2 separate regions of the Homo sapiens genome follow, and region 2 is linked to region 1. The links are contacts of gene promoters, found by promoter capture Hi-C in blood cells and fetal thymus (Javierre and others, 2016). All regions are on one chromosome and are shown on one strand. The core of a region is centred on a gene start or on the middle of the fragment in contact, and the rest is flanking DNA. Distances in the headings are between cores, read along the strand shown.

What was found. Contacts are between HindIII fragments. The CHiCAGO score rates a contact against its expected background, and 5 or more counts as called.
Region 2: a contact is called between a fragment that was not itself captured here and the fragment with the promoter of BEND4 in region 1, in 1 of 17 cell types (total B cells). The highest score is 5.5, in total B cells.

Annotation. Positions count from the first base shown.
Region 1 is chr4:42,150,454-42,155,022 of GRCh38, forward strand. BEND4 (BEN domain containing 4) reads right to left here and starts at 2,202. Exons shown (of 6, transcript NM_207406.4): 1 at 2,079-2,202; 2 at 1,204-1,923. The coding sequence starts at 1,690. RefSeq lists an enhancer at 676-1,519 and silencers at 1,285-1,374, 1,575-1,894. The HindIII fragment of the contact is 4,164 bases long and covers 1-3,218 here.
Region 2 is chr4:47,902,973-47,907,541 of GRCh38, forward strand. NFXL1 (nuclear transcription factor, X-box binding like 1) reads right to left here. Exons shown (of 23, transcript NM_001278624.2): 4 at 2,265-2,374; 5 at 221-351. Among named protein-coding and RNA genes, the nearest start is that of NFXL1, 9.3 kb to the right of the region's middle. The HindIII fragment of the contact is 603 bases long and covers 2,325-2,927 here.

The sequences.
Region 1 (4,569 bases), core at 952-3,451:
CAAAATATTGACAAACAACAGAATTATTACTGGAGGCATCTATAACTCATTTAGACACAACACTTCTATTTTCCACAGGAGAAAAAAATAAGTCTCAAGATTCACTGACATGCAGGATTTGGGGGGCTTCAAAGTGCCATAAAAGGCCTTGGCAGGAACTTTTAGTTCTAATGAGTGGATAAACGTGGCTGCACCCACTGGGAGCTGGTGGAGAGGTCCCTTGGGCGCAGGCCTCAGGCTGTGGCCTCGCAACCAGCCCATCTCGCTCCCTGCAGGCAGGCAGTGGGCTGCTTTGCCGGGCAGCGCCCGCAGACTCGAGATAAAGGAGAGGAGTCGCGGACCCCAGAGTGGGTGCCTCCCACGAGGCGTTTCTGTAAGGCTCGGGCCGAGATGCTCGGGAGGGGCAGGACCCCGCGGCGCGGCAGCGTGCCACGGACGGGGACGAGGGGATGGCGGGGACGACGACGTGGGCGGTGGGAGCAGAGTGCCTGCGACTCCCGGGGCAGGAAGGAGGGGCGGGATGGTTCCCCGCGCCCGAAATCCACGGCGTGGCGGACGCGGAGGAGCCCCGAGTCTCACAACCAAGGGGTGGGAAGGAAAAGGGACAGAGCGAGACAGAGCGCCCCCGAGAAACACAGGCGCACAAAAAAAGACAGAAGGAAAAACGGAACTGAGAGCCAGCCAGCATGGACTGCGACAGCGTGAGAGTGCATCAAAGAGGTGGCGAAGAAAGCACTAGAAGGCAAAGGAGAAGTGGAGAGAAGAAGAAACAAATGGAGGAAGAAGGAGAAAGGGAAAAAGCAGACGGAAAAAGTGAAGTAGTACGAGGGCGTCCCAGCGGGGCGGCCCGAGAAGCTCCAGCTTCTTCCCGAGCGGCCGCCGCTATCCCCCGGGGGGGCGTCTGGCCCCACTCCGGACCACGCCCGAGCGATCCTGGTCGCCGACTGCCACAGCCGTGCTTCCCGGCGCGGGATCCAAGCCGCGGAGCCACCTGTTAGGCGCGCGCCGTCGGAAGCCCAGGCGCGGCGGCGCTGGAGAATCCTCTCGAAGTTTCCGGGTGCGCGGGGAGGCCCCAGGTGCGCCCCGACATCCCGACACGGCCCAGCACGGGTAAGTGTCGGCGGCCCCCCGCTTCTCCTTCCTGGGTCCCCTCCCGCTGCCCCCGGCCGTGGCGGGAAGGAAAGTTGTGCGGAGAGTTGGTACCTGCGCTGAGCTCCAGGCTGGCGCTGTCGCTACCCGTGCCGCCGGTGCCGGCGGCCGCCGCCGCGCCTGGGCCATACCTGACGACAGCGGCGAACGAAGACGACGAGGAGGCGGCGGGGGACGCGGGCGGCGGCTGCGCCGGAGTCCTCAAGTGGCCCTGGGATGTGGCGGGCGTGCAGGACGGCGACGACGACGAAGCGGCGGCGGCGGCCCGGCCGGGCCCGGGGGGGTAGGAGCTCTGCGCCTGGAACTGCTGCGGCGGCGGCTCGCTGCTGCTGATGGAGACGGCGGCGTGCGGCGCGAAGGGCGGCGGGGGCGGCGGGGGCGCCCGCACGTGCGGCAGCTCCACCAGGGTGGGTCGCTCGTAGCGCTTGGCCAGCGCCGGTCTCTTGCTGGGGAACGTCTTGAGGACGCTGTAGGGGCTGCGCTGCTTGTAGATTTTGGGGACGCTGGGCCCCTCCTCTGCCGGCTGCATCTCTTCCTCCATCCGGCGCCTCGGGGCCGGTCCCTCGGAGCACGTCCCCTCCCCGCCGGGCGCCGGGCTCCGAGGGTGCCTCCGCCGCCTGCCCGCCGGGTCTGCCCTGGTGCGCGCGTGTGGGAGGGTGTGTGTCTGTGCCGTGGCCGCCGCCGCCGCCGCCTGTCGCTGAGGCTGGCATCGCCGAGCCCCCGCGCGGGGGGCTGCCGCCCGAGCTCCTGATTGACAGGCTGCCTCGCCAATGCCTGGAGGGAGAAAGGAGGTAAAGAGCAAGTGTTTAGGGTAATATCTGCTAATGATAATGGGGGCGGGGCGGGGCCTGGCGCCGCAGCCGCCCGCGGGGTCTGCCTGGCGGCTCCGCGCCTCCGACGGGGAGCGGGGGAAGGGGGAAAGCGAGGACCTGGAGGACGCCCGGGAACTGGTGAAGAAGGTGGGGATCCGGGATCTGGCTACGGCGAGACTTTAGAGACCCAGATGTGGACTCGAGGCTTCTGCGGCTGCGGGCGGGGTCCGGCTTCCGAAACGAGCTCGTGGCGCCCCCTGCATGACCCCAAACTCTCGGGGTTGCACAGAGGAGGGGCTAGTCGTTGGGGCGGGGTCGTCAGAGTACGTGTGTATTACAGCAAGTTCTTCTACCAATCGGGAATTGCTCTCCGATCCTTCTGAAAAGAACCTCTTGAAGATCTTGGCCCGGGTGGTCGCGCGGTGTTTACGGGGCTTTGGGGTCCTGCTTTCCCCGAGCATCGCGGCCTCTGAGCTCATGCGGAACATAAAAGCTCGCAAGGCGTAGAACTTTTTCACGTTTTCATTTGTTTCCCGTAGGGGCCCCGAGAACGTGCATGACACCATGATTTCCCCCCCATTATAAAGATGAGAAAACCGAGGCTCTGAGAGGTTGAAGGGAATTGCCCAAAGTCAGACACTCGGGAGTGTGCGGCTGTGTTGCACTGACGCATCCAGGTTATTTGAAGTCAACTCCTCACTTCCCATAGCCAGTAGCCTCTGTGCAATTGAGTGGGGAAATGTCCTGATACCTCCCTTTGAGGTGATGATTACTTTCAACAGTGTCATTTTTAATATATGTATATGTACTTGCAAGCCCAGGGAAACACGAGAACTCACTCCTTGCATTGTTTTACTCACTGCAACTGGCGCCATCCGGCGAGGGTCTGGAGGGTGCCCAATTTCAGTAGCCGTTTGAATGAGAGATCTCAGTCGTTGGGAGGAAGATCCTCCATGGGATGCAGATGTCCTGGTCTCTCCCAGCCACTTTTTGGGGCAGAGGGTCCATTGCTCCCTATCCCAAATCACCCCTCTTCTAGGCCAACCAGCATACCCTGCCCCAGGTTTGCTTTTCAGCCTTCCTTTTTCGTTCTCCAGGTCAGAGTTCTGGATGCTCCTTGATGTAGGACCCTCATCTCTGCACTCTGAAGTTTGTTTCCTTTTCAGAGCCTTCCTTTTATTCTTAGGAAGGTGACCCATTTTCTTCTGGGGGTTCACATCTTTTGGCCTCTCTTTCCCTGGTCTCCTTCCCTTTGGAAGCTTTTTCTCTCTGCCTTGCTGGTTCAGCTTCTGTATTATTCCCCCCTAGATTGTCTCCCTCTCTCCTGCAGCTTCCTCAGATGGTGCTGTGTCCCCCCCCCAATCCATTTATTAGAGATGAAATAAATAATGCCATAAATATAAGTATTTGGGAGTCCAGGAACTGTCAGGGCTGATTAGGGCATAGAGGACATTTTCTTTCTCATTATGCAAAAGCATTTCATGGGGAAATAAAAGAGGTTTCATTGTAACTCATGCATGTCATATTTCAAGGAATTCAAGATATTAATCATATTTAACATTATTTGCAATGTTTCTCCCTGGCTTCTGAAAACTGCTAAATGAGGACACGTGGATCACTAGGAAAAGGAGACAAGCATGAGAGGGACAGTTAAGAAATAATGAAATGCTGGTGAAAGAGAAAGAGAATGAGATGCCAGGGAGATGTTTCTTAGGCACGTAAGTGAGAAATGGGGGAGCTACTTCTGAGACGTGAGACAGCTGAAATTGAATGATATACTGGAGGAAATAAATGATAACAAACCTCCCCACACTTTCCTTTCTATAAAGCAGTTCTGAATTTTGCATTGAAATGTTTTCCTCCCACTTTACTCCCAGATAATTTGCCAATAAGTCCTGGCTTTTGAAAAGAAATTGGGGTGGTGGCAGTGTGGGGAGTTAAGAGGAGAGAAATCTTTTAGTTCTTCTGAAGAAGTAATTTCCTGTACCTGGGGGCTTCCTCTTCTATGTAGTTTTAAATGTATATCCTCCTCACCACTTAAACACCTTAAGAGACTGGGAACAATACTTCTATTGTATATTTTCTATTGAAAAGGACATGCTGTCCTTTACATCAAAAAGTGATTATTTCTATAAAACTGAAATAATCAAATTAGTCATTTAGCTTTTAAAAGTGGGGGGAAGGGGGAGGGGAAGGTGCCCAGAGGAAAAATATTTAAAAGTTTTAAATGATCAGCTTTCAGATTTTCATGTGGGCAGTCACCTATGTCTGCGTCCTGAGTTCATAGAAAAGTGAAGTACTTAAGAATCACCCTTTTAAAAATAAAATGAGCATTTACTCTAAGTGTGGAGTTGAAGGCAATTTTAAAATTATAGCTGACCACTAACCCCTGCCTGAGATTGTATTTAACTGAGTATTGTACATAGATGTAATGTATTTAAGTGTTCATAAAATTACTGGTAGCACTCTGTGAGCATCTTGCTCTAAATTGTGGCCTAAATTATCAGATAGTGACTTTGCTGATATCTTCTCTTAGGGGTCTCATAGGAGCTGATAGAATAGTAATTATACCCATGCTTTAAATCTTTTTAGATATTTACTCTTATCT
Region 2 (4,569 bases), core at 1,376-3,875, 5.8 Mb after region 1:
GTGAAACCCTGTGTCTACTAAAAATACAAAAAATTAGCCAGGCATAGTGACAGGTGCCTATAATCCCAGCTACTCAGGAGGCTGAGACAGGAGAATCTCTTGAACCCAGGAGGTGGAGGTTGCAGTGAGCCAAGATCGCCACTGCACTCCAGCCTGCGTGACAAGAGCAAAACTCCATCTGAAAATAATAATAATAATCCAACTAATTAGAAAAAGTTACCAAGGCCAGGGACAATCTTTCTTTCCAAAATCATCATCAGTCACAGAAGATACAAGAAACTGGCTGTCTTTAGCCCACTTCTGGATACAGGGCATGTGAAATATACAGAAACATCCCGAACAGCTCCAAACCTAAGACAAATGTATCAGAAGTTAATATATGTTAATTTTTCTTTGTTAATTGTAAAATAATTTAAAATGAGTATCACACTAAACTATTTTCAAGAGCTACCTAAGGATTAAAGAAAAAAGGTCTTTCCTTCCAGTATAACAGAAGAACTGTTTCATGGGAAATGCATTTAAATGTAGGATACTTCGAAGAAAATTATTATTAGTCAAACAGATTCATTCAGCTAGAAATAATTACTGCTAACATTCTGGACAATCTCCAAATTTATATATATATATTTTTTTCATACTTTTAAAAAATGAGGTCATACTATAATAACTGAAATGTAACTTTATAGTCTTTTCTATAAGCATATTTATAGCTATACATTACACCATGTAGACTTACGTACTTAAATTTCTTGTTGGATGATTATTTCCAAGTATAAATAACACTACAAAAGAATCTTTAAACATAAATATGTACATATATCTCTACACAGCCCTTTTGTTATATAAAACCTATTAGTCTAACACCTAACTAATGCTAAATTCTAAAAATTAGGTAATCAAAAAACAAGAATATACATAATTTAAAAGCTTAAGAAATAATACTAAATTAATTTTTAAAACCTGCCAAACACTTTGATAAAACTGATAAAAATCAGTTCCCCTTTCCTTATAACATTTTACAACTGTTTGATAAAATCAGACATGTAGCATATCGCATGAGCTAACAACAGCATTAAACAGCCGACTTCTTAGTTTGGGTTACCCCCAAAGCGGTATCTAAGAACTTGGATGCAGGAGTAAGGGGACTAGACAGGGAAAAAGAAATAACCAATGAATGGCATATGGTTGAGCTGATTACCACTAAGGGCCACAGAAGCTCAATCCTCCAGGGGACCCTCTGTAAAACCATGTAAAACACGCCTTGGACTGCCCAGCCCCACTCGCTAATGGAAAGGAGGTTGGGGCATTCACCTACCAACTCCCTGTGGTGCAATGTTGCTGCAAGGGGCTTTAACTCCCCAGTGCTTCTGCACTATACCCATGTACTAGCTAAGTCAATTTCCAAGAACAAAATTGAGAGGCGGAAAAAACGCACACACACAGCAAATGTTTAAAGTGGGTTTCTATCTGCATGCAGAGACTATGCATTCCCTGCAGCTGAAATCAGAGTAAACCAACTAGATGTGACTCTAGGCACAAAAGGCATCTGTATCTGCTATACTCTTCTACCCAACCAGAGCATGTTAAATTTCTGATTCACTCTACATGACCAAACTATTTCATCTGACTTGATTTGCTTTCTCTAGGCAATGCTGCTATAATAGCAGTGAATTAATCTAAGGTCTAAATGTTGAGTCTTTCACATTCAGTAATCACTTCTTAATTGCTTCATTAATGCCCTTTTAAATTTACACATATATATCTTTATCACTACGCCATATCTCCTCCAAGGACATGAGTTTTGTCTGAATCTCTCTCCCGACTGACCCTCACCACTTCCCAAAATGCCTTTAACACAGGATACGCTAACTAATTAAGCCATAAGTGTTACTGCCAAGTTCTACTTTCTTGAAGATAGGGACCGTATCTTTTTCCAAAAGTAATAAAATATAGTACATTTAACATTTCACTTTTGTGGGAATCTCTAAAGTACAGATGCTAAAAATGTTCTATCAAATCAACATTTGCATTAAAACTGAAGACAACTAAGTTATATCAATAGTGCTAAAAATACTGGATACTCATTTAGTGGTAATTTTTTTTTAATTACAGATTTTAAAATGAAGATCAATTCATATACAAAATTCTCAAATGAAGCATTTTTAAACATAAGTAAACAAAAGAATAATAAATCGTTAAGTATTGTAAGGCAAACTAAGGTATTTTGGGGAGATACATTAATATAAATAAGGAGAAAAACTTACTGCTTGGTTTCTCTTCACCGAAGCAATACAAATTAGGCATGTCATAGCCCCTGCTTGAAAAGCTTCATTTACATATTGTTTTGTTCGCTCTAATTCACGTGTATCTCCATCTGGAAATTTAAAGATTGAAAATCTCACCCTAAACAACATCTGAAAATAACACAAACTCACTAATAGCACCATATTATGTAAGAACTGTCTAGCAATATCAATTGCTCAAAATATAGCTGTAAAACAAGAAGTTTTTTTTAAAAAAGTAACCAATGAGCTGTCAAGAGGTAACGAAGTCTGTGTATTAAATCTTGTGTACTTTGTTCAAAATCAGTACCTCAGCTCTCTCTCTCAGTTATACTTGCTTTTTTGGCTGTTAGAATTCTCAACAAATTTGGCAGAAGCAGAGCCATAAGCAACAGCAGCAAGATGTAAAGTCTTAAGGAAAAGCAAAGTGTGAAAGGAAAAGCCTAAACTAATTAGTAGAGCCACTGAGCATAAATATAAGCATAGATGTGAGTGAGTGGGGGTGGGGGTGGGTGTGTGTGTATGAATTTAGCAGGTGTATTCTTAATAAAAAGTTGTTGAATGAAAAGACCCTGAGGTTTTTACAGTACAATAGCCACATCTCATGAAATCATGTTCACTATTTCTGCTTAAGAAGGTAGCATAAGCTTTTTAGAAAAAACAGTACCTGACATTATTTTCTTTCAGTAATTATTGAGTGCTTATTTGCTAGACACCGTACTATTAGTACTTCAATAGGATTAAATGAGCTATTATCTTCATTTTACAGATGAGAAAACTGAGGCACAAAAGAATTAACTTCAGTTTGCCTACAAAGTGAACCCTCTTAACCTCTATGCTGCACTGCAGTGAGCAGTTACTGCAGGAAGGTCCAACAAATAACAAGCAACAGCAAAATGAAAAACAGAATGAGTCCTCTAAAGCACAAATGACACCAAAAGGACAATAATCTGAGTCACTTTAGTATGAGAGAAATAAGCCTACATGCCTTTAAAACAATAAAGATTGTTCAATAGTGGTTAACTGAGTCTTCAAAAAAAGTAGATTAAAACGTAAACTACCATAAGTACAGAACTTACCATGGCAATAACGTGGTTCAAGCCAAAATTTAAGTTGCCAAAAAGAAAAATTAAATAAATAGGACATGTGGCTAATTCTTTACTTTCTAAAATCATCTGAGTAAACACGGCACTTACAAAAGCTTGCCCTACCATAAAATAAATATGATTTAGAACATTAAGCAAAATAAACGCAAACATACTCTCAAAACTATAAATTATTATAAAATTATTAAAGACAGTTGCTTTATTTTAAACAAACATTGAAGTTTTTAAAAAAATCCTTAAAAGCAGAATAGTATGGGGCGCCTATTTTGCTTTTCAACAAAGCTGGCATTAACAGATACAAAACATTTTAAATTTCATCTAATTTAACAGCTAACTCAAAAAACAGAATTTAAGAAGAAGATAGAACAGGCTTTTACAAAATAAAAACCAACCTTATATTTTAAAAATTTATGTAAGATTTCTTTGAAACATGTATTAAAGTTTGGCTGCATCAATAAAATGTACTGCCCAGCACATCACAGCGGATAGCATGCTATTTGAAGTCATGCATTTTAAAAAGATGACTCTGGCAACTAAAGAAAAATGAGTATGTGGAGGCCAAGACTGAAAGCTGGAAGTACCAGTTAAGAGACAGTTACAGCAGATTAAGCAAAAAATGACTTTGAGCAAGTTACCTAATGTGTCTCAGTTTTGTCATCTGTAAAACTAGTAGTAACAGTTATCTACCTCACAATTATCATATGGATTTAATCCACATGTTAAGCAGCTGTAAAGGCTTGAAGTAGGCAATGACAGTACACAGGCAGAGTAAGGGTAGATTTAAGAAATTTAGGAAGTAAAACTTAGGAGGACTTGGTGACAATGAGATTGTGTCTGTTTTAAAAGCTGATGTTCATGTCAAGATTCAGAAGGAAAGAGGGCTGTGTCTGCTGAGCTAACATGGGCAGAGGGAGAATTGCAGTAAATGACATGCATATGCCATCTCTGCTCCCAGATGTCTGGCTTGGGAGGGTGACTGAGAAAACTGTAGTGCTATTAAGATTAAGAAAACAAAAGAATAAATAAGTTCTCTTTCAACAGCAGTTTGATGGGTCCACGTGCCAGCAAGATAGAGATACTCATCAGGAAGTTGGCCATGCAAGTTTGAAATTTGAGAGAAGAATCACAAAAATGCAAAGGCTGTGCTCAAATAAAAATGAACTCCTTTGGTAAAGTCCTGG